7 separate regions of the Homo sapiens genome follow, and regions 2, 3, 4, 5, 6 and 7 are each linked to region 1. Evidence: promoter capture Hi-C in human tissues and cell types (Jung and others, 2019). All regions are on one chromosome and are shown on one strand. Each heading gives the region's core, a stretch centred on a gene start or on the middle of the fragment in contact. The rest is flanking DNA. Distances are from core to core; before and after follow the strand shown. Region 1 holds the start of MEIS1 (Meis homeobox 1). Region 2 has its middle 78 kb from the start of LINC01829. Region 3 overlaps LINC01828 (long intergenic non-protein coding RNA 1828). Region 4 overlaps LINC01828 (long intergenic non-protein coding RNA 1828). Region 5 has its middle 63 kb from the start of LINC03050. Region 6 overlaps LOC105374785 (a long non-coding RNA gene). Region 7 overlaps LINC01799 (long intergenic non-protein coding RNA 1799).

Region 1 (3,064 bases), core at 252-2,751:
GGGAGGGGGAAAAATCCTCTCGGAGCCGAGCGAGCTGCGAGCCCTGCTTGTGGATGTGAGGTTTCCAGCCACTGGTAGAGCTGCTGCGGCTGAGCCATCTCGGCAGATCAGAGCCCAGCGGACAGAAATATAAATACGAAAATAACGCCACTAAATATAATCACAAGGGAGAAGCTTAGAGCGGGAGAATAAAGAGAAGGGGTGAGGGGGAATTAAAGCCCAGGCAATAGGTGTTAAAGTTAAAAACAAAACAAAACAAAAAACAGTGGTTGGTTGGAGCCTCCGAGTTGTAGGTACAGGCAGCTTTTGTCTGAAATCTCAGCTTCCGAAGCGGATTTCTTTTTCTCTGGCACTGGGAGGTTTCGCCGAGCCGGGTTGGGGACGGGAAAGAGGAGCGCGGGGAAGGATGTCTGGGGTGGTGAGGGCAGGGCTTCGCTGGAGAAAGAGCTAGTGGGGCGCGAGGTTCTTACAGGCCCGGGAGAGGTCGAGGCTGGAGCCCCTCGGCGCCTCTAAGACAAAGGCAGCGGTGGCTGCAGCCGGAGCCTAGCACTCCGGCAGCGTCGCGCCGCGCCGCGCCGCGCCCTGGGCGCACGGCCGCCTCACCCCGAGCGGGTCGGAGAAAGAGCCTCCCTCCCAGCGGCTCCCCGGCCCCGGCTCCGCCCGCGAGGTCTGGGCTGCTGCGAGCCCGCGCCGGGTTTCGCTTTCCGACGATCATAAATAGCTTGGTGTTTGTAAACAGGCGCTGGGGGCACATTCCCCGCGCTCAGCTCATTGTTCCCTCCCTTCCTCTCTACTTCGCGCAGGACGCCTGGGCTGGGGCTGGGAGCCGCCGGGGCTAGGAGGTGGGGGAGTCCAGACCCGAAGTGACAAAATGCTAGCATTTTCTTTCCCCCGGCCGGGCGTCCACCTCTAACAGCAAAGAAACCTCTAAGCTGGGTCTGCAGAAAGCCCGAGCCACCTCAACCCCATGTTCTCAGGACTCCTTAGCAGAGGCTTTCCCAACCTGGCTTCTCCCTCCTTTTCCTCCACGATCCCGCTTTGACTTTTCTCCTTGCAGTGTTTAGTTCTGAGAATTCAGTACTTTGCGCATCACCCCCTGCCCCGAAAAACACTGGCAGACCCCAATAATTTCGAGGAAAGTCATGAAGTCTATGCGCGGAGCCCTGTGCAAAATAACTCCCGCTGCTGCCTGCCCGGCGTTGATTCCCAATTTATTTCAAGAGAGTCGGCTTTGGGGAGAGAGTCTGCAGGGGGAGGGAGAGAAAAGAATACTGAAAATAAAGCTGGCGGCCGCGGGCTACTGCCTGCGTTTGTGTGCGTGTGCCCTGGGTGTGTGGTGTTTGTGCCTGGGCGTGCGATTTAATGGAGCGCCTCTCTGCCTCTCCAGTGCGGCCAGAGCTCGCTTCGCGCACCCACCCCTGCCGAGGAGCCTACTTGCTGCAGCCCAATGCATTGTGTAAGACGCGACCTGTTATGGCCACCACTACTTCCGGGTTCTAGCATTCTGGTCGGAATCCACCTCTCCGCCTGTGCAACACACACTTTACACACGCACGGGGACTGCAAGCGGGCAGCATCGATCGTGGCTCCTTTAAGACAAACTCAGACAGACATTTTTTTTAACCCTCCTTCTCTAATCTCCTTCCAGTGCAGCACTTGCAAAGAGGGAGAGAGAGGGAGAGAAAGAAAGAGAGAGAGAGAAGAGAGAAACTGATTAGGAATTAGGACTGATTCAAGGGAAGCGAGCGCTAGGGCTTTGTGCATTTGAATATTAACATTTGAGGTGTTCTGACCAGAAGAAGACAGAGCGGATGATCATTCATTCACCACGTTGACAACCTCGCCTGTGATTGACAGCTGGAGTGGCAGAAAGCCATGAGATTTGGTAGTTGGGTCTGAGGGGCGCTCTTTTTTTTCCTTTTCTTTCTTTCTTTCTTTTTTTTTTTTTAAACTGATTTTTGGGGGAGAGAAGATCTGCTTTTTTTTGCCCCCGCTGCTGTCTTGGAAACGGAGCGCTTTTATGCTCAGTGACTCGGGCGCTTTGCTTCAGGTCCCGTAGACCGAAGATCTGGGACCAGTAGCTCACGTTGCTGGAGACGTTAAGGGATTTTTCGTCGTGCTTTTTTTTTTTTTTTTTTTTTTTTCCGGGGGAGTTTGAATATTTGTTTCTTTTCACACTGGCCTTAAAGAGGATATATTAGAAGTTGAAGTAGGAAGGGAGCCAGAGAGGCCGATGGCGCAAAGGGTACGTATTAAAAAACAATTGTGGAACTCAAATGTGAGATTAAATTGAAACGTGGCCGAAAGACACTGCTAAAAAGTTTCCTTTTTTTCTCTCTCTCTTTTAAAAAATGAGGCTCCTAAAGCCGTGGCCTAAGCGAGAGGATTTATTCAATGCATTTGTAGACTTATGTATGTTACTTGGAGTTGTTAATTAAAGGAATCTATTTATCTATAGATTCCTAACCAGCAGCTATATAAATAAAAATGCAAGCTCAAACAATCATCTGGGTTTTTTTTTAAAAAAGCTAGATACCTAAAGCTGTAATTTGAACATTCAGAGATCAGAAGTTTAAAGTTATGTTTAAACTAAAATATGCAGCTGGAAACTTCTGATATGTTATTGATTATGCTCATCTTTAATATCACTAGAAGTATTCAGCTTTTTAAAGGAAATAACTTTGTCATAGTATAGCCAATTTTTTGGTCAGAAAACATTCATCTTTTTATAGTAATTTCAATTTGTATAGACTTGTATACAAGGCAATATTTTGCAAGTTTCTCTTAGATAAGCCCTCTACTAATTGAATACTAAGCACACAGTTACTCACTTTAAAAATGCAATACTAATTTCCCCATATTCCTTTTTCAATGGAAATGCAGTGAGAGTAAAGTGAGACAATGACAACCCAACTGAGGTAGTTTCTTAAAAGAAAGGGGGTCTACAAAAAGCCTTCCTTGCATAATTTGTGTCCTGGCCCTCAAAGCCCTGTTTGCAAAAGAAAGTTACTAGGCTGACACAGTTTTCTTTACTCCTTTGGTTCAGGCAAATGTCAGCGTTCTT
Region 2 (3,064 bases), core at 401-2,900, 860 kb after region 1:
AATGCATTTATATGTATGTATTTTATATGTATACCTATATATGATACCTATACATTACCTATTACATAATTACATATAATATTTTATATAGAATATATTATATATATGTCAAGAGATTATTCTGATTGGTGATTTCTAAATTAACAAATTTAAAGGATAGATTAAAAGACAGGGATTAGAATTTGAGTTTTCATTATCAAACTACCCTAGGTTTGAACACTAGCTACATAATTCATTAAATGTATGTCCTTAACCAATTTTATTCTCTAATGTTTAGTTTCCTCATCTTTAAAATAACAATAATAATATCTACTTCCCAGAGTGTTGCTATAAAGATGAAATGAAAACAAATCAAGTAAAGTATCTCACACAGGACAAGAGCTCAATAAACATTAGCTCTGTTTCTAATGTAAAAACAACAAAAAGAAGATTTATAGCTTGTTACAGAATAAATTGCAGTGTTTATGAATTTGTAGTTATTGAAGAGTTCAGCCTAAGTAGGGAGATGAACCAAAGACCTGTGGGTAGTCTGGAGACAGATTGGAAAGGAAAAAAGTTTATAAAGGCATTCATGTTTAAGCAGTAAATATGTTAGAGTTTTTCTTTAAGGCCAAGATAAACTACCTGATTTCAATTTTATGTATATATATATATATATATATATATATGGTCATATATGGTTTTTATATAAAGTAATATATATTATTTTTGCTACTTTGATAACTAATGTTAACTAAATAGTAAGTTTTCAGGTAGAACATTACAATAACTTCATATTTCTTACACTTGAAAAATTAACAGGACACATGGTGGGGAACAACACACACTGGGACCCGTCAGAGGGTGGAGAGTGGGAAGAGGGAGAGCATAAGAAAGAACAGCTAACGGGTGCTGGGCTTAATACTTAGGTGATGGGTTGATCTGTGCAGCAAACCACCATAGCACACATTTATCTATGTAACAAACCTGCACATCCTGCATATATACCCCTGAACTTAAAAGTTGGAAAATATGTATATTTGATTAAATATATATATCAAATATATATTTGATTTCATTATTTCAGGGAGGTATATACAAACATATATATAATGAACTTGGCTTTTCTCTCACCAAAAATCAGACAAAAAATTTTGCACAAGCAGAATCATGAACTTAAGTATTTGGGGGTAAACATTTTTCAAAGTAGCCACTGAAATGGATAGTGGAAGACCAATAAACCCTCTGGAAAGAGTGTGAGGAGACAAAGGCCCCACATACTCCATCAAGAAAGTAATCATCAATTTCTCTGTAAGGTTTCTAAAGGGAACACCAGAGAAATTTCATATAGTAGAATCCTTATTAGTAAAAAAATTGTGGCTATCTTGACATTTGGCCACTTCATTAATTATTGTGATTCAATTAAAGCAGTTTTTTAAAGACAGGAGGAGAGTTGACTGATTTTTTCAATGAATTAATTTTTGTTCAGCTTAAATATTCTTATTATTTTTGTAATCATTTAACAACATCAATAACAGTCACAGTTTTATTTGTTTTATAGAATGCTTCCCCATAGGTTATATTCTTAACTACCACAATGGCATTTGAGCTCATATTGTAGACTTAATTTTTTAAAAAATGAGGCTGAGAGATCACACGACTCCTGCAGATTTTCACAGTGCATAAATAGCAACTCCAGAGATGTCCCCACACAAGCATCTCCTTTCTGCAGAATTGTCCGGGTGTTTTGGGCATGCATTCTTCATAAGTTCGGTATTTTAAAATCAGAAGTGAGTCAATGACAGACTTTCTTTCTTTAAAAAGGAAAAAAAATAGTGATTTTTAATATTTTAAATTAGGAGTAATTAAAATGTCCTACAGAAAGGCCTGTGCTGATTCTAACTTTCACTCAGTGAAATTGAAATAATCTAACTCCAGAGGAAGCTTCAAGCAATTGAAAGAAGCCATGAGCCTTCCATTTAAACCAGTTCAATGTCCATCTCTGGTGTCAGAAACTTGAAGAACATTCACATTTTCCATTTGCTTTATCAATAGCTACCTCAATGTTTCTAAACTATCCATCACAATAGTGCTTAGGTAATTAGACAGAGGCGCTCTGGCACTGTATTATTTAAACATCATTTCCACGCAGCACAGTCAGCCCTACCATGTGCCATTATTTTGATGGGCTTCTCATCACTTAAATGATGAAGGAGAAAAATTACAATTTCCTCTAAATTCATTTGTAGATACTTGCACAAATAATGTTTGGCTATGATCATCATAGTGAACACTGGCTGTATGTCAACTAAATCCTTGGAGAGAATTTTAGCTCAATTGATGGTCCTAGTTAATTTCCCATAGGCAATTGTGAGAACTCTCTTCTTTCAAAGTTTGTTTTTTTTTCTTCTTTTTTTAGTGTTGGAAATCCCTTGCAAATTCACTTATTTTATTGGTTCTTCTTTTATTTCATTATCTATGGTCTACATTAAGATAAAAAAAATCCTAGGTGGTCTTAAACCATTGTAATTAGGTTTGGAGACTGGCTCTTTGTATAGTCACCAGATGAGGAAAAATGTGTGAAAAATTGGGAGATGTTTAATCTAGGGCAGAGGTTGGAAAATTACAAATCAGTGCCACCAAGTTGCTTATAAATAATGCTATAGTGGGTCATAGCCCTGTTCATTCATTTACATATCACCTACATTCACTTTCACCCTTTGATGGCAGCGTCAAGTAGCTGTGACAGAGGCTATGTAGCGCAAAAAAAAAAAAAAACTTGAAAAACTTAAAAGATGTTCTAACTGGCCCTTTAAGAAAAGGTTTACAGACCCTTGAGCTAGAGGGAACTTTGGTTCCTGGCAGTAGTTTAAAAAAAATATTTAACAAGTTTGTTTTAGCTGGTCTTCTTTTAGCTAGGAATCCAACATTTCGTTTCATCCCAGGACTTGTAATTGATGATGACAGTGATGTCCATGAGGCACTGAAAAGCCTTGAAGCACCTTCTGAATCAGCAAAGATTAAATCTCACTCACTATGGGTCTCTGTTGTCCAGATTCATAGACTTAAAATTGAAAGGGAACTT
Region 3 (3,064 bases), core at 188-2,687, 840 kb after region 1:
ACAGAAGAAGACAGTGCTTAAGCTAATTAAATCTGCTGTGGAACCAGGAGAATTCCAAGAACAGCAGTAACACATTTTTATTTTATAAAAATGTCCCCATTGAAACAACAGATCTGAATGCAAATGTAAAACTAAGCATTCGATAATGCTCACTTTCACATCTGTCAACATTTTAGAGTAACTTCAAGAGGAATACATTTGTGGTTCTAGAAATTCTTAGTTTATGCATAGAATACATTTGAGAGGACTTTGTTTTCACAAGTATCCAGGTATCAAATAAAAAAATACCATGGAATCACACACTTTTGAAGCTGGAAGGGATCATGAGAGTCATGTATACCTGCCCCTCATTTAACAGGTGTGATGAAAGTTCAGAGAGGTTCAGTTATCGCTCAAGATTACTCACATGACTGGATTTCAGGAAATTTGAAGGCAAAAAATAAATTAGGGATAGATTTCCCTCTGTACCCTTAGCATTTAAATGGCAAATCTCTCAGTCTGAGATAGAGGGCTAACCCAGACCAAAATTCACTGGTCACCTGACCTTTCTGTATTTTTACAAACAAAATTAAATGGAGAATTGAAACATTTGCCCAAATTGCTTTGGTTAATTTACTGAGCTTTGTTTACCTTAAAAAAAAATGAAATAGAGTAGAATAAAAAGGGTGACACATCTTACAGTATTTGAATATTAATAAAATCATATTTGATGTTAAATTTACTGTTTTTATTCTTACGTGAGTATATTTCATGACACTTTTCATGTTTCAGTTATAACTATATGTGTGTATATATATGTATGTGTCTGTATGTATATATATTAGATATATGCTAAGTTATAATATATAACTTTTTCTTACCATGAATCACAGTAAAAAAGACCAAAATTCACTTCAGTGGAAATTTCACTTTTGCCCCACTCACCATCTTTAAAAACAAAAAACCAACAATGAAAATAAAATGTAAAATAGAAGCTTCTCATAACATTTTGGGGGAACCTTGCATTAAACTATCACTTTCTTGTCACTGCAGCCCAAAATGTTCTTTCTCCTTCAGGCCTAGTGCAATGTCCTATAGGTTACTAAAAAAGAAACATTAAACTTAAGAAACTAGAAAAAGGGCAAATGCACAAAAGATGAAAAAGGAAACAGATCTTCCTTTCGTTGTTTTAAGATACATGTTTTTTTCTTTCCTAATATCAAAGTTTGGGGTAAACAACAAATGTAATTTGCTCAGTTCCTAGGACAGTAGATGTACAATAATACGTGTTAAAGGAACACCAAAATAAGGGTAAAACAGCAGACTTTAGACTCTGCTACTAACCTGTACAAAACTTGGTGGAGTTTATAATTTCTCTGAGCTTCAACTTTCTCAACCGTAAAAGGTGATGACTGGGCAAGAGCTGCATTTCTTTCAGGGATCTTTGCAGAACTCTTTCCATGGGCTCTTAATAAATGACCCATGAAAATCATTTCTAAATGATAGGTTAATAGTGGGCCCTTCACCGATTTCTACCTTCTTATGTATTCATGATCATCCAATGAGTCCTAACTTTCCAGCTCAGAAATGGTGACCTCCAAAGAAAAAGAAAAAAAAAAAAAAAAAAAGGTCCAAAGAAGAAGAAAATGAAATCACTCTGGATTTCTTAAATAAAACATAAAAGTATATCCAACTGCATGGACCAGATACTAGTAAGCTTCTCAAACTAGGAAGCAATAGTTTGGGCTGTGAATTAAAGACTTATTTTTCATATGTCCTTTCTTTTATACATGTGATCTTTCACAAAAAAAGAGAGAGAAATAGAAGGTACTATTTGGTTCCAATAAGTACCTTGTCCAAAAGACAACACAGCAATGGGCACTGTGCACCATTTGCTCAGGAGTGGTTCTGTAGCATCAGGACCAAGTGGGAGGACTGGAATTAGCAGGAGCCCTACTCACCTACTTCTGTGACTTTGGGATGAAAGAGAATCCAAATGAGCCCCTGCTCTGTATGGAATTGTGACTACCATTATCTACAGCTACAACTCCAGAGTTAGAAAAGATAACCCTATCTGTGAAGATAACCCTTCTGTGAAGGTCCTGAATCTGGGTAGCTAGAGGGCACGGTGTATCTGGGGAAGCACAGCATATTCCATTAGGCACACCACTGTGACTCTAAGCTTCCATTTCCTTATGCAAAATGGGAATGAAACTAGAACCTACCTTATGAGTTGTGGAAAGAATTAAATATATGTGTAGGACTTGACCCATTATCTGATACATAGTAAGTGCTCAGTAAATGTGCCTGGTTTTATTATAGTATAACTGAATCCGGACTATGATTAAGAGAGCAAAGATAATGAAAATTTAAATGATATGTTAGTATAGATGCATTCTGCTGTGATGTGAATGCATTAGAAAGACACTGGGGAGGCATACACATTGAATTAGAAACGAGCACCACCTTCATGGTCCATTTTGTTCACTTTCCAAGCAAATGGCTTGGAAGAGTTGAAGGAATCTGGTCACCCCTAGATGATTAGCAAATCTTGTACTTAATGGGCAAAATGAGCAGCCAGGGATGCATCCATTTCTCAGGAGATAGGCTCTTGCCATACATTTCCATTCTTTGTTTAAAATTGCAACACATTTTGGACCAAAAATCTTTGGGCATTTTGCATCTATCCTGCCATCCTGAGATTTGTATATGCCAACAAACACCTTCTAGTTATCATTATGTAGCACTGATACTTTGCTCTGGGGTCTATAATCATCTTTATGTGGTCAAAGATGGCTTCAGTTTACCCTGGCAAAGCAGATGACGGCTGCTCTTTTATCTCAAGGAAGTGGAGACAGAACAGGGAGTTCTTGTCTCCCTTGTCCAAAGGGCACACAAGTAAGCAGAAGTGCCTGGGCTACCGGGACTCTGAAATGTGGCCATCAGCCAGGTGGCAGTGCTGGCCGGGTAATCACCCCACCCAGCACGCAAATCAGGGTAGCACTCACTTATTTTCCTGAGCTACTCTAGGCGGTGAGCACTAGCCTCAATGCTACCAGGTGTACGTACCGCAAAAATGGTTGAC
Region 4 (3,064 bases), core at 174-2,673, 820 kb after region 1:
GGAGTCTCACTCTGTCGCCCAGGATGGAGTGCAGTGGCGCAATCTCTGCTCACTGCAAGCTCCGCCTGCTGGGTTCACGCCTTTCTCCTGCCTCAGCCTCCTAAGTAGCTGGGACTACAGGCGCATGCCACCACACCCAGCTAATTTTTTGTATTTTTAGTAGAGACAGGGTTTCACTGTGTTAGCCAGGATGGTCTCGATCTCCTGACCTCGTGATCCACCCGCCTCGGCCTCCCAAAGTGCTGGGATTACAGGCATAAGCCACCTTATGGCCTTAGAATTACAACTTTCAATAGGAAAAAAAAAACCCTATGAATTCTCCAAAAATCAACAGAAGCAACGTTAACCTTTTTTTCTCTAATAACAAGGTGGTTATCTCCAGTGCCTTCTAGAATATCTTTGTCTGTTATTCTTACTCCTCATAAGCCCCCAAGCCTAATACTATCCTCCTACAGCCATACATTCAAATCGAGCCTCAGGATCTCAAGCAAGGTCCTTCAATTGACCTACAAAATGGGTGTTACCTCTGCTGGTAAGGAGACTAGACCTCTCCCTTGAACAATGTCATATCCCATGGCATCACTATTCCTCTTCTTCAGATTAAAGGCTGGATGGTGATGAGCAGATTTCATCTTTCTGCCAAGAACAGATTGACCCTGAGGTAAGTAGATAGCTTACAGTCTATCCCAGGACAAATGCAGGTAGCAGGCCTTCTTTCTCAAACAACACAAGTTTCTAAAAATTCCTTTCACCTCCATTAAATTTAAAACATAGTGTATAGTACTCTTTTCTTTATTCCAAATATTAAAGTGCATATCCATGGTAAAAATGATAATTTCTCAAATAGATACAGTCCTATAAATCATCTAGGGATAACAAAAACTAAGTTTCAATGAACATGCCAATTCTAAATGTCATGTAGTGGTTGCCTGGAGTACTATGTTGTAAAGGACTGTGACCTGCATTTACACTCAGTGGGGATGCTGCATTCAGTGAGCCAGCGTTGCTTAGGAGGATGGGAGAAGTAGAAATAGATCACGTCTATTGTCCTTGACCTCGTCCGGTGATCAAATACTGGACCAAATCTGGCCACACTTATGCATTTATATATGTTCTGTAGCTGCTTTCCCTCTGCAGCAACAGAGCTGAATCTTGCATCAGAGTGTGTGGCCCACAAAACCTAAAATATATTTACTCCCTGGCTCTTTACAGAAAAGTTTGTCAACCCCTGATTGTAGTCCAGCCCTCTCATCTCACAAATAATAGAATTAAATATATCTTCCTGTTTTTCCTTTCAACTTAAACCTTAGATTCTGATTAGCTAATCAAATCAAAGTAATAGTGACTTCTTACTAGAGTGGTACAAGCTGAGATCACAGTTTGTTACATGGAAGAACCACCATATGTGGAATCAAACCATGACCCAGACACCCAAACCGTATGTCAACTGTATTCTCATCTTAGGGGTGATATTTCTGAATTTCAATCTAGAGTTTACTTATCATGTGGCTTTTCTAGTTAAAAAAAATAAAATAGTATAATTTTGACAGGAATAATAAAAAGTATGTTTCACAATTGTAAATTGTCTCTCCATTTAAGTACACATGTCTGTCATACCATTGAAAGGAGGAATAATAAATCCAATATTTATGGTTTCACTATGGGTTACTGGCATCCTTGTAGTTTAAATAGGTGACTAAGAAGAAATCCTGCTGGCAAGCAAATTTATACATACTTATTTTGTGCCTTGACACGCTGAAAGTGTTCACATAAAATAATATAAGGCTTCTATAGCCTTGATTATTTCTGAATACTGCAAAATCTTACACTGGTATTGCAAACACACTTTGAAAACAGCTGGGGTAATCATGTTTAGTCTCAATCTGTGCTGTCCAATACAGTGGCCACCTGCCCCACGTGGCTACTGAGCACTTAAAATGTGGCTAGTTCAAATTGAGGTATGTTGTATGGACTGGATTTCTAAGACATGGTATGAAAAAATGAATGTGAAATGTATCATTAGCAATTTTTTGTAATATTCTATGTTGAAATGATATTTTAGATATATTGGGTTAAATAAAATGTGTTATGAAAATTACTTTCACTGCTCTTACTTTTTTGATGTAGCTACTAAAAAATTTAAAATTATCTATACGGGTCATGTATTTCTTTTGGATGTGCTCTGGTGGAGAAATTTTTAAAAAATATTTATGAAAGCAAGCCCAATGAGATAGGGAAATTGATACACACTTATAGAAAATGTACTACGTTCCCATGCCTCTGCTGATGTCATAGCCCTAACAACAATGAGCAATGTTCAAGGAAAGAAATAGCCCAATAAGTCAACATCTACCTGTTTAACATTATGAGAAAACTGAGGTCATGTCTCATGACTAAAGGCCTAATCATCTACTTCTCTTCCTTTTAAAAGTTTTAAAATAGTCCAGCAAAATTAGCACATAATCCCTCCCCGTATACTCACCCTTTCAAAAAGGAGCATGGCCTGAAAAATATCTGTTGATCTAACAAAAATAAAGAGAAGTTATAAACCAGACACTATCATGCAAATAGTTGAGTTGGCCAAGAATTTACTTCAAGTAATACCACATGACATTGTTTGATCTCTTTTGTTTCAGCAAGGATAAAAAGGCCAGCCATAAGGAGACATGACAAATACCATTGAGTACTGCAGAGCAACTTGGCAGCTGCCCGAGGTAGAGCATCTTGTTTACATCACCACGCCAAGCCAGGAAGCAGAGTGAGGCTTTAGTCCCTGAGGCATTAAGTCCTCACCCTGATACCCCAATCCAGGTCTAGCCACCTCTCTCCAGACATAGTCCTGAGCATAACAGCTGTGGAGATCAGTTGCCTTTTCTGCGAAATTGTCATTAAACCATGAGTAATTTGGCACTATTTTCTGCATGATTTGTCCTCTCTGAAAATAAGCAGACTCAGGCTTGTGAAAATGGAAATTGATTTACTTTCTATCCTTCTTGAGCTCATCTATTTAAGGTCTACTTCTTCTGGGATGTGCCAGGAGACTGCACTACTTTCAAGTGGTGGA
Region 5 (3,064 bases), core at 284-2,783, 770 kb before region 1:
AACAGGTAGTGATGGAGAAGGCCCATTCTCATACTAGCACGTGCTTCACAGTATTTGCTTTTTCTTTGTAGGTTATGGAAAGGAGGCTCTCTTGATACCAAGCTTCAGGATCCACCCACAGGAAAAGGTGATTTCTCAAGTGTCGAGTCTTGGCGTACGATGCATTAGGCAATCAGCCCCTGCCTGTTTGATGGAGTTGTACAATAAACATGGGCTTGGGGGAATCAAGAACATTTCGAGAAGCATCTCTGGTGGAATCCTGATGCTGGAGGCCTCTACTTTGGGATGTGACATTTTTGGGTTGGCTGACTAAAGCTGTTCCTGGAGGTCAGCTGGTGGTTTTGCAAGTTCTTGGCTTTTTCCTGCATTCTGTCATTGTGCCTTGACTTTTTTAGTGGGGCGGGATTCCCCATGACTGAGGATGGTGGTTGTGGTGATGGTGTGAACAGTGAGACTGCCCTCTACCTCAGGTTAGGAGATGTGGGAATGAGACAGAGATGGAGGGGTATGTTCTGGCTTAATCAACTGGATCAGCTTCACTAAACTGGGTAGGTTTCAAGCATTCCTAGACACCAAAGCCTACTCCTTAAATCTGCAATGCAATGTTGGTGATTTTAGCCTTCTGGAAGACCTTTCCTTAGGTTAATGAGACAACAATTTGCTTAAATGTGGGACAATTTCAATATAGAAGTCATAATCTGGGCCATGGAATTTGGTCATAGGTTGATAGAAGATTTCTAGCCACTTCATAATAATAACTATATCTTATGCATTTTTTAATCTTCTTCATTAGTTCCAAGATATAGTTTAAGGCTCTCTTGGAGTCACCTTAGTTTGCCTTTAGTGCATCAGAAAGGACACTTTGATTTATCCCAGCATGGAGGTCAGAGGTTAACAACAGGACAACAAGCATATACTAAGCTCTTGCCATGGGTGTAGCAAGTGCGGTGCAGTGTGCAGACTCCATAGAATCCTGTCATGGCCTTTGCCCAGAAGAGGCTTCTGATTTTGCAGAGGTAGGATTTATATAACTGTTAGATTGAAAGTGAGGACTTCTGCAGATGCAGTTGTAAAATGTTGTCATCCTTTCCTTCTAAGCCTGGGCTGTGGGGTTAGCTCTCCATTCCCTGGGTCAGATCTAGAGAAAGTTCCATCACTTTTCTGGCTACTCCAGGATCTTTTGTTTGCAAAAATGTTTGTAATTCAATATTATCACAGTGGTTTTCAACCCAGGTGGCCCATCAGAATTGCCCGGGCAGCTCTTAAAAAATATTGATGCCTAGGCTACCGCCAAGACCAGTGAAATAAGAATCTTTGGTGATTGGAAAAAAAAATCTTTGAGGATGAAGCCCAGACATCAGTATTTTTAAAGCTTCCCAGGAATTCCAGATGGATAGACAGGGTTGAGAACCACAGAAATGGAATGTGCAATTCCAGATAAATCATGAAAAATTCCAATTCTATTTAAAATGAAAACCTCTCCTGTTCTCTTTCTCTTGCCTACAATTCTGAGTTAGGGAGAAAGACTTGGGAAGCCTTGACTTCTCACCTGACCTTACAAGTGTTTTCCTCCTAGCCAGCTTGCTCACCGATGTTGCCGACTGCTCTGAGGTTGGGGTGGGTAGGAAGGGAGGACAGGTAATGGCTGGGAGGGTCTCATGTGACTGGCATCAATGCCACCTGACATGGCTTCTTCTGGCTGTGGGAGAAGTTTGAAGTTGATTTGCTTTGGGGACAGAAGTAAAAATTTGTATATTCTTCGGAGATTGCCTTTCATCTCTGGGAGTCTCTTATCTGCAGTTTCTTTGGTTTTCCAGTAATCTGACTCACACAGAGAGACTCTGCTGTGTCCCAGTGGCCCCCAGGAGGCCATCTTAGACAAAGTCCCTTAAGAGGGTGCCAGGCTGGCTCTCCCTCAGTCATGCAGGCCCTCCTCTCCTCTCTCTGCTTTCAGCCCTGCTACCCACCCTTTCCCTTTAGGCTCATTCATCCAGCGTTCTGGCAGTACCCTCTGGTACCGCACAGACTTCAGGGGACCTTGAACAAGCTCCATTTTGTCTCCTGGAAGCTCATTCCACCAGGTTTGAGGTGAGGGGAAATACCACTTTGGCAGAAACACTAGTTGTCCCCCAATTTTTTTTTCCATTTTTTTTCCTACAGTGATAGAGTGAGTTTCATCTGCAAACGTGGCTTTTCAGAATAAAGACAACATTTCTCAGTTTCCCTTACAGCTACCCACCATGAGACTAAACCCATTGTCATGGTACTAAATTCTGATCAATGGCATATTGGGTACATGCAGTGTAGGCAACTTCCAGGAAATATCTTTAAAAGGAGGTGGCATGGCCTTCTTCTCAACCCGCTTTCCCACTGGATGGAAGGCAGTTGGCTGAGATCTTGGTCGCAGAAGTGGGAGCAGCATGTTGAGGAGGTTGGGCAGTAGGCAGGAAGCAGCCTGGGCCCCTGATGAGTCATACACACACTGACTACTGAAACTTGCATGTGTGAGAGAAATAAACTTCCATCTTGTAAAACCCACTATTTGTCACTGGTAAAGCCTGAGTTCTGTCCTCTCTCTCTCCTCCCTGGACAGTATGAGCTTCACCACTCGCTCCACCTTCTCCACCAACTACCAGTCCCTGGGCTCTGTCCAGGTGCCCAGCTAAGACGCTCGGCCAGTCAGCAGCATGACCAGTATCTCTGCAGGGGCTGGGGGCTCTGGTTCCCAGATCTCCATGTCCCCCTCCACCAGCTTCTGGGGTGGCATGGGGTCTGGGGCCCTGGCCGTGGGGATGGCCAGGGTTCTGGCAGGATGGAAGACATCCAGAACAAGAAGGAGACCATGCAAAGCCTGAATGACTGCCTGGCCTCCTACCTGGACAGAGTGAGGAGACTGGATACCAAGAATCGGAAGCTGGAGAGCAAAATCCGGGAGCACCTGGAGAAGAAGGGACCCCAAGTCAGAGACTGGAGCCATTACTTCAAGACCGTGGAGGACCTGAGGGCTCAGATCTTCGCAAATACTGTGGACAATGCCCGCATCGTTCTGCAAGTCGACAATGCC
Region 6 (3,064 bases), core at 211-2,710, 550 kb after region 1:
ATCTCTACATATTATTGAGCACATTAGCTCTACTCCTACAAACATCTTCTTGGTTCAGAGAAGTCCCCATTATTCAGACTTTTCCTCAGGAATCTTTCTTGCTCTCTTGGTGTTAGTTTTTTCCTCCTTTGACGTCTTTTACAAACCATAGGTAGAGTTACCCTTCTAAAATATTTCTCAAAAACTACGTTCAGTAAGTGAGGATTCCATGGAGTACTATATGTTCAAGCAGTGAAGTGCTAGAAAAATATGAGTAACATAGTCCATGGTGGCAAGTTGCATATCTATCCACTTGGTGACTGATGCGTATTCTTTGGACTTTAGCTACCAATGTTTTCTTTCAACTTAATATATCCATCATATTTCCTACTCATTGTATTATGTGAATTTATGTTTTGAGGAGATTTGTCAAAAAAAAAAAAACAAAACAAGAGAATAACATTCAGACCAGTTAACCTGTTATTCTTGACTCTCAAAAGCCTGGCTGTAGTTGAAGATAAGTCAATTGAACAGACATGCATTGAGCATGTAGCAAAGTGTTGAAGAGGGTGTGTTGTTGAAGCAGATCATTTACTTTCAAATCTCAGCTCCGTAATTCTAGCTGTGTGCCTTAGATGCATGGCTTACCTAACTTTTTCTCACCTGAAAATGGGAATAGTAACAGTTTCAATCTCATAGGACGGTTACGAAGATTAAATAATTTTTTGAGAGGTGGTGCAAGTACTGACACATAGTAAGTGTTAATGTTTTCTTTATTATCATTGTTATCATCATCATCATCATCATACCAATCACATGCCAGTCCCATAGCTAGTGCTAAATATTTATTGAATTCCTTGTACAATTGAATTCCTTGTACAAACTAGGCATTGTTCTAGGTGTTGGGGATGTAACAGTGAAAAGATAGACTAAGCCTCTGCCATCATTATGTCATATTAGTCATTGGTTTATTCAACAAATATTCACTGAGGGCCTTTGATGTACCAGGCACTTCTAGGTACTATGACAGCTGTTTATTAAGACTGAAAAATCCCTGCTCTCATAAACTTATGTTTAGTCATTTAGGTGTGGTCTTTTCATCTAAACTATGTGTTTCTTGGGGCCAGTAACTATATCTTAATTATCCTGTATCCCAAGAGCCTACAAAAGGATTATCACATAGAGACTTATTTCATAAATATTAAATTAGTAAATGCATGAATGAATGAAAAAAAATGAAATGAACACCTATGTTCACTAGGCACAAATAAGTTAGCATTAACTAATTTTGAATGAAGTTGAAATCAACCATCCTTGTCAGAATCACGTCACACACCATTCCATGAGATTCCTATTGAGGAACGTAACACCCACCCTACTTCTGAATTTGGAAGCTCAGTTTTCACAGGCAGCAAGTATGGCAAGAGGGAATAAAATCCTCACAAGAAACAAGATTCCAAAGGAATATATTAAACAGAACATTAGGACTCTGCACAATTTGCAGCAATAGAGATTCCAGCTAAATTTCTCAATTCAGCTTTGCTTTCTATTCGAAGTAGCAATGAAATCATGAAAAGTGTAAAAGATGTGGAATGATAAAAACAACCTGGAGACCATGTCTAAAAAACCTTTAGAAGTCTTTGCAAATTAATTAATAATGATTTTGTTCTGCTTGAAATAAAAATGGAGAGATTATATCTAATAACACTTTGTGATATGTAGAAAATAAAGAAGGACAATAACCATGCCCCCGTCCTTGAAAGAGCACCTATTGTAATTAGGTGAGATAATAAAGTTTGCGCAGGATGAAGGCCATGTTCAGGTATTGGGAAGAGCAGGAGAAAGGGGAGAAATTTGGGATTTTTCTCAGGCCTGACTTGAGGAAAACTTGAACACTTCAGATGCTTTATGAAAGCCTAGAGTATATTGCTCAATTTGGAAGATGTTTCTTTAAACAGCTTCAGAAATATAATCTGACCCATTTTCCTCAGCCATGCTTATGGGAAAGCTTATCAACAAAACGGTTTTATAGGGAAATGTTTCAGAGACCTTCTGGCTGCCCCCACATGCAAATCATCAGGCAGCATGCACTTGGAGAACAAGAATATAATCAATTGCACAATGAAACATTTCCATTTCTCCTCTTGAACAGAAAAGAAGGAGCTAAAAATGTCCCAAATCCTAGAAACCTCACCAGTAAAGTAAGAATCATGTAAAGTTTTCACTAAGGCTTAGGAAAGATGTTTAATCACATTAACCTCTATTGATACAGTGCTTGGTATAAAATTACATTCTATAGTATTGTCCTAAATTTCTAGAGAGGAAAAAAAAAACCCAATCCTGGTTGCTATTTTTCCTTAGGTAAATAAGTTAAGGTCATGTGGATAAGTAGAAAATGAGAAGCTTCGACCATAGCCTGGTGACTATACCTTGTGTGTGTGTGTGTGTGTGTGTGTGTGTGTGTGTGTGGTTTGGAAGATGCTTTAAGATTCAAATACTGATTATGGGAACTACAGGAAATTCTTTACATGTAGTCAGATTGGAAATGTGACAGACACTGTTTGGGTAAGACAATACAGCTAATATGTCCCTATGGTAAGATGGTCACAGCATGCAAAGTTTGAATTTTTGGGCTTCATCTTAACCCAAGGACCAAGCATATATTGTGCTTGCTGGTCAGAGAAAAACAAACAAACAAAAAAGAAATTGCCTAAAAGGAAATCTACCTTATCCTGAGATAAAATGTACATGAAATAGGGTTATAACAAGATTTACATTCTATAATCATTAGGAATAAAGGGAATATTTGCAGATCTATCTTCCTAAAGAACAAATTGAAAAACTTTTCTGATAAAATCTTTCCACACTGTGATATTCAGTTCTGTCAGATACCACAGAAAAATGATGGCAAGTGAGCATATCTATCGACTTGGTGACTGATGTGTATTCTTTGGACTTCAGATACCGATGTTTTCTTTCAACTTAATATATCAATTATATTTCCTACCCATTGTATTATGTGAATTTATGTTTTGAGGAGATCAGCAAAAACTCCAGAAAAACAGCTTGTTTGGGGATATCATTT
Region 7 (3,064 bases), core at 260-2,759, 520 kb after region 1:
TACAGTGGCAACTATTCAATGTGATGTGGAAAGTCAGTTGTAATATATAATGATAACTGAAGAATGCGGCATGTGAACTTATTTTTTCTCTAGCTCTATGAGCAGTTCCCAAATTGATTAGAAGTAGTAGTTATAAATTTAGATTCCTGCTGTGGAAAATAACAGTAAAGCCATGTTCATTTTTAACGTTTTTCAAAGGTCCTTAGAAATGCCATTTTTCATACCATAAATCTGTGGTAGTTGAATGTTGGGTTGCTTTCTCAAAGGAATGTTGAAAGTACGGTTGCAGTTTGCTGTGGTCAAGCTTGGTGGAAAGAGTCACTAATGGGGACCCAAAAGGATTCTTAGAGTATCTGACCAATGTTGTTTTTGACGAAATCATATTGCTACAACTGAGAAAGATTAGAGAAAAAAAAACAGTTATCTGAGACTAAAATGATTCTTACCAATTATATTTGGCAGGTTTTCACCCGTTAATATTTTGTTCCTGGAAAGGCCTGTTCTGGAAAAAGAGAGATGCTGGCTTATCCATGTAGGGCAGATCCAACTAGGGAAAGCAAAATAGCACCTCAACATTATTCCTCTCTGAAAATCTAACTTATTCACTGAGTCTTCTGATACACGGTTTGTTTGGATAGGAGGCAACTGGTTCCCTGGTTCCCATGCCCACCACGAGGCAAGTTAGTCCACAGAATAGGAAAACCGACCTCCTATTTGTTTCCTGGGACTAGGAAGATGACTTTGCCACTTGAAAAATGAATTATTTTCCTACATTTCTTATCACCTCTGTTATAGGTGACGAATGTAAATTACAAAGTAAAAAATATTTATCTATAGTCTTTAAAGCTATAAAAACAGTTTTTACAGTACTTTTTTTTTACTCTTAGTGTAATAATTAGGTAACATATATTGCTACTCAATTTACCCACTTTTCATTTCATCTGGCTCTGTGACTTGCATTTATTTCAATGGCATTAACTAATACAGATGGAGTAATATAACAAAATTGACAACTGGCAAATAGATCAATATCAAGTAAGAGGATTTCTATAGCTAGTGTTCTACTAGCCAGGTAGTAAAATAAGGCAATTATTTGGTAATTTAGGTACAAGTAGAATTCTATTTGTTAAAGAATGGGAATCAAAATGATATGCATAATTGGCTGCATATCTTATTCATTCATTTACTTAATCATTCATTTATTTGACAAATATTTATTAAGTGCCAAAGGATAAAACATGGTTCTTTGTCTTACAGAGCGTATAATGGAGTTAGGATGACTGGATACACATGTAAGTCATCATCTTTACGTGCTTATTGTCACTTGGATCTGGCAGGTTGACTATTGAATAGTACCCGACTGGCACTAATAAAATTGCTAAACTGCTGTATTTCAAGTTACTTCTATTTTGCAACACTTTAATGGAATTATATAATTGTCACATCAGGAAAAACAAATTATTTGAAAATGACTCAAACATAGTAAAAGTAGACTGATCCATAAATGTATTAATAATTAAATTAGACATTTATACTTTCACATGTTTCTTAAAGTAGCAATTCTCATTTTAACACCAAGTCTGCCTCCTGAAGGACTTTATACATTTTCTCATGAGCCATTTGTGGCTTGGTCAGTGCTTTCATTTTTATTCTTGTGTCTTCTTTTCCTTCTTCTGTCAGACCGTGACTTGCTGTCTTAGGCCCTAACATCCTCATTAATATGGATATCTTTGTCAATGGTACTGCTGTTGGTAGAATAACTGGTAAGTTGAGATAGAGTGGCAGTTTCCATTCAACTTTATTTCACTTTTTCTGCTTTGAATGAAAACTCGGGCTACTTGCAACAATTCTGGTCACTGTCTAATAATAAAGAGTCACTGGGTCACTTCAGTTCATTAAGTCACAGAACCAAGTCACAAAATAATTAAAAGACCCAATCACATCAGAACTCCAAAGCCTGACTTACCTTTAAGTTGCCTCTCAACTCTAGCTTGTACCTGCTTAAGGCTGAGACCCTGCAACAGTGAGTGTGTGGAAAGCATTTGTCTTTCTATTGGACTCTGTCTCAGCTTACACAGATAGCTTCCCCCACCCTCCACCTGTGGCTTTTCTCCTACCCCGGGGTTGAAGGTAGGAGTGACAGAGAGTGGGGAGAGGTAAGGGGATAGAAAAATGCCACTTTGCTGAGAAGTACCATGCTCTCTGGATCTGGTGTACTGTTAAACTCATTCTTTCCTTGTGGGCACATATTTATCCTATTAAGAGATTCCTTGCTAGAGCTTTTCCTCCTGAAGTTCTCTTAACTCTGGTGGATGAAACTGTATTCCAGGTAGTCACTGAAACTTCTTGAGAAGAAAATTGCTAAACTGCTGTATTTCAGGTTACTTCTATTTTGCAGCACATTAATGGAATTATATAATTGTCACATTAGGAAAAACAGAAATTATTTGAAATTGACTCAAACATAGTAAAAGTAGACTGATCCATAAATTTATTAATAATTAAATTAGACATTTATACTGTCACATGTTTCTTAAAGTAGCACTTCTACTTTTAATACCTAGTCTGCTTCCCAAAGGACTTTATTGGCCCCTTGGGGGACACCTGTACCTTGTGGGTGCTGAGTGTGTCATTGCTCCAGGAGATCATATTGGACAGAACCCAATGCAATGCCACACTGGTCTTCTCTTCCACACCTCCCTCACGTGATTCATGGGAGACACGCTTGCATCTCTTGTCTTGCCAACTCAGAAAGTGCAGGCCAGTCTCTCCGCCACTACCTTCCACCACCAATGCAGGCAGCCAGCCAGCCTTCTCCAGATCACATGAGAGGTGCTGGCATTCCTGCGATCACAAAGGGCCCTCGGACGCCTGAGGCTGCAGGCAGACCCAAATTCACCATCCCAAGAGTCAGGCATTAGTCAGGGACCCAGCTCGTGTTAAGTAGTTTCCTGAAACTCTGCTCACTTGGTTTATGTGAGTATGAACACCCCCTTCCACTCACCCACAGGAAGGGAAGATGAAATGACAACACTGGAAACTCTCTCAAAAAAAAAATCCTCCC

Evidence for each region. The method cuts DNA at HindIII sites, captures the fragments that hold promoters and counts their contacts. A contact is called where the count stands out against the background at its distance.
Region 2: a fragment that was not itself captured here is called in contact with the fragment with the promoter of MEIS1 in region 1 in 1 of the 25 tissues and cell types used here (H1 embryonic stem cells).
Region 3: a contact is called between a fragment that was not itself captured here and the fragment with the promoter of MEIS1 in region 1, in 1 of the 25 tissues and cell types used here (IMR-90 fibroblasts).
Region 4: a fragment that was not itself captured here is called in contact with the fragment with the promoter of MEIS1 in region 1 in 1 of the 25 tissues and cell types used here (heart right ventricle).
Region 5: a contact is called between a fragment that was not itself captured here and the fragment with the promoter of MEIS1 in region 1, in 1 of the 25 tissues and cell types used here (H1 embryonic stem cells).
Region 6: a contact is called between a fragment that was not itself captured here and the fragment with the promoter of MEIS1 in region 1, in 1 of the 25 tissues and cell types used here (mesenchymal stem cells).
Region 7: a fragment that was not itself captured here is called in contact with the fragment with the promoter of MEIS1 in region 1 in 1 of the 25 tissues and cell types used here (H1 embryonic stem cells).

The regions. Positions count from the first base shown.
Region 1 is chr2:66,433,624-66,436,687 of GRCh38, forward strand. MEIS1 (Meis homeobox 1) reads left to right here and starts at 1,502. Exons shown (of 13, transcript NM_002398.3): 1 at 1,502-2,245. The coding sequence starts at 2,234. RefSeq lists enhancers at 1-28, 898-1,774, 1,362-1,461, a silencer at 554-653 and a promoter at 1,260-1,800. The HindIII fragment of the contact is 8,281 bases long and covers 1-2,061 here.
Region 2 is chr2:67,291,459-67,294,522 of GRCh38, forward strand. No RefSeq gene overlaps it. Among named protein-coding and RNA genes, the nearest start is that of LINC01829, 78 kb to the left of the region's middle. The HindIII fragment of the contact is 8,300 bases long and covers 1-3,064 here.
Region 3 is chr2:67,274,731-67,277,794 of GRCh38, forward strand. All of the region lies in intron 3 of LINC01828 (long intergenic non-protein coding RNA 1828), which reads left to right. Among named protein-coding and RNA genes, the nearest start is that of LINC01829, 61 kb to the left of the region's middle. The HindIII fragment of the contact is 4,406 bases long and covers 1-3,064 here.
Region 4 is chr2:67,257,314-67,260,377 of GRCh38, forward strand. All of the region lies in intron 1 of LINC01828 (long intergenic non-protein coding RNA 1828), which reads left to right. Among named protein-coding and RNA genes, the nearest start is that of LINC01829, 44 kb to the left of the region's middle. The HindIII fragment of the contact is 7,091 bases long and covers 1-3,064 here.
Region 5 is chr2:65,663,875-65,666,938 of GRCh38, forward strand. It overlaps the pseudogene KRT18P33. Among named protein-coding and RNA genes, the nearest start is that of LINC03050, 63 kb to the left of the region's middle. RefSeq lists enhancers at 2,594-2,643, 2,734-2,783. The HindIII fragment of the contact is 5,708 bases long and covers 1-3,064 here.
Region 6 is chr2:66,984,093-66,987,156 of GRCh38, forward strand. All of the region lies in intron 1 of LOC105374785 (a long non-coding RNA gene), which reads right to left. Among named protein-coding and RNA genes, the nearest start is that of LINC01628, 63 kb to the left of the region's middle. The HindIII fragment of the contact is 3,017 bases long and covers 1-2,969 here.
Region 7 is chr2:66,957,531-66,960,594 of GRCh38, forward strand. The region is part of intron 4 of LINC01799 (long intergenic non-protein coding RNA 1799); the gene reads left to right. Among named protein-coding and RNA genes, the nearest start is that of LINC01628, 37 kb to the left of the region's middle. The HindIII fragment of the contact is 4,734 bases long and covers 1-3,064 here.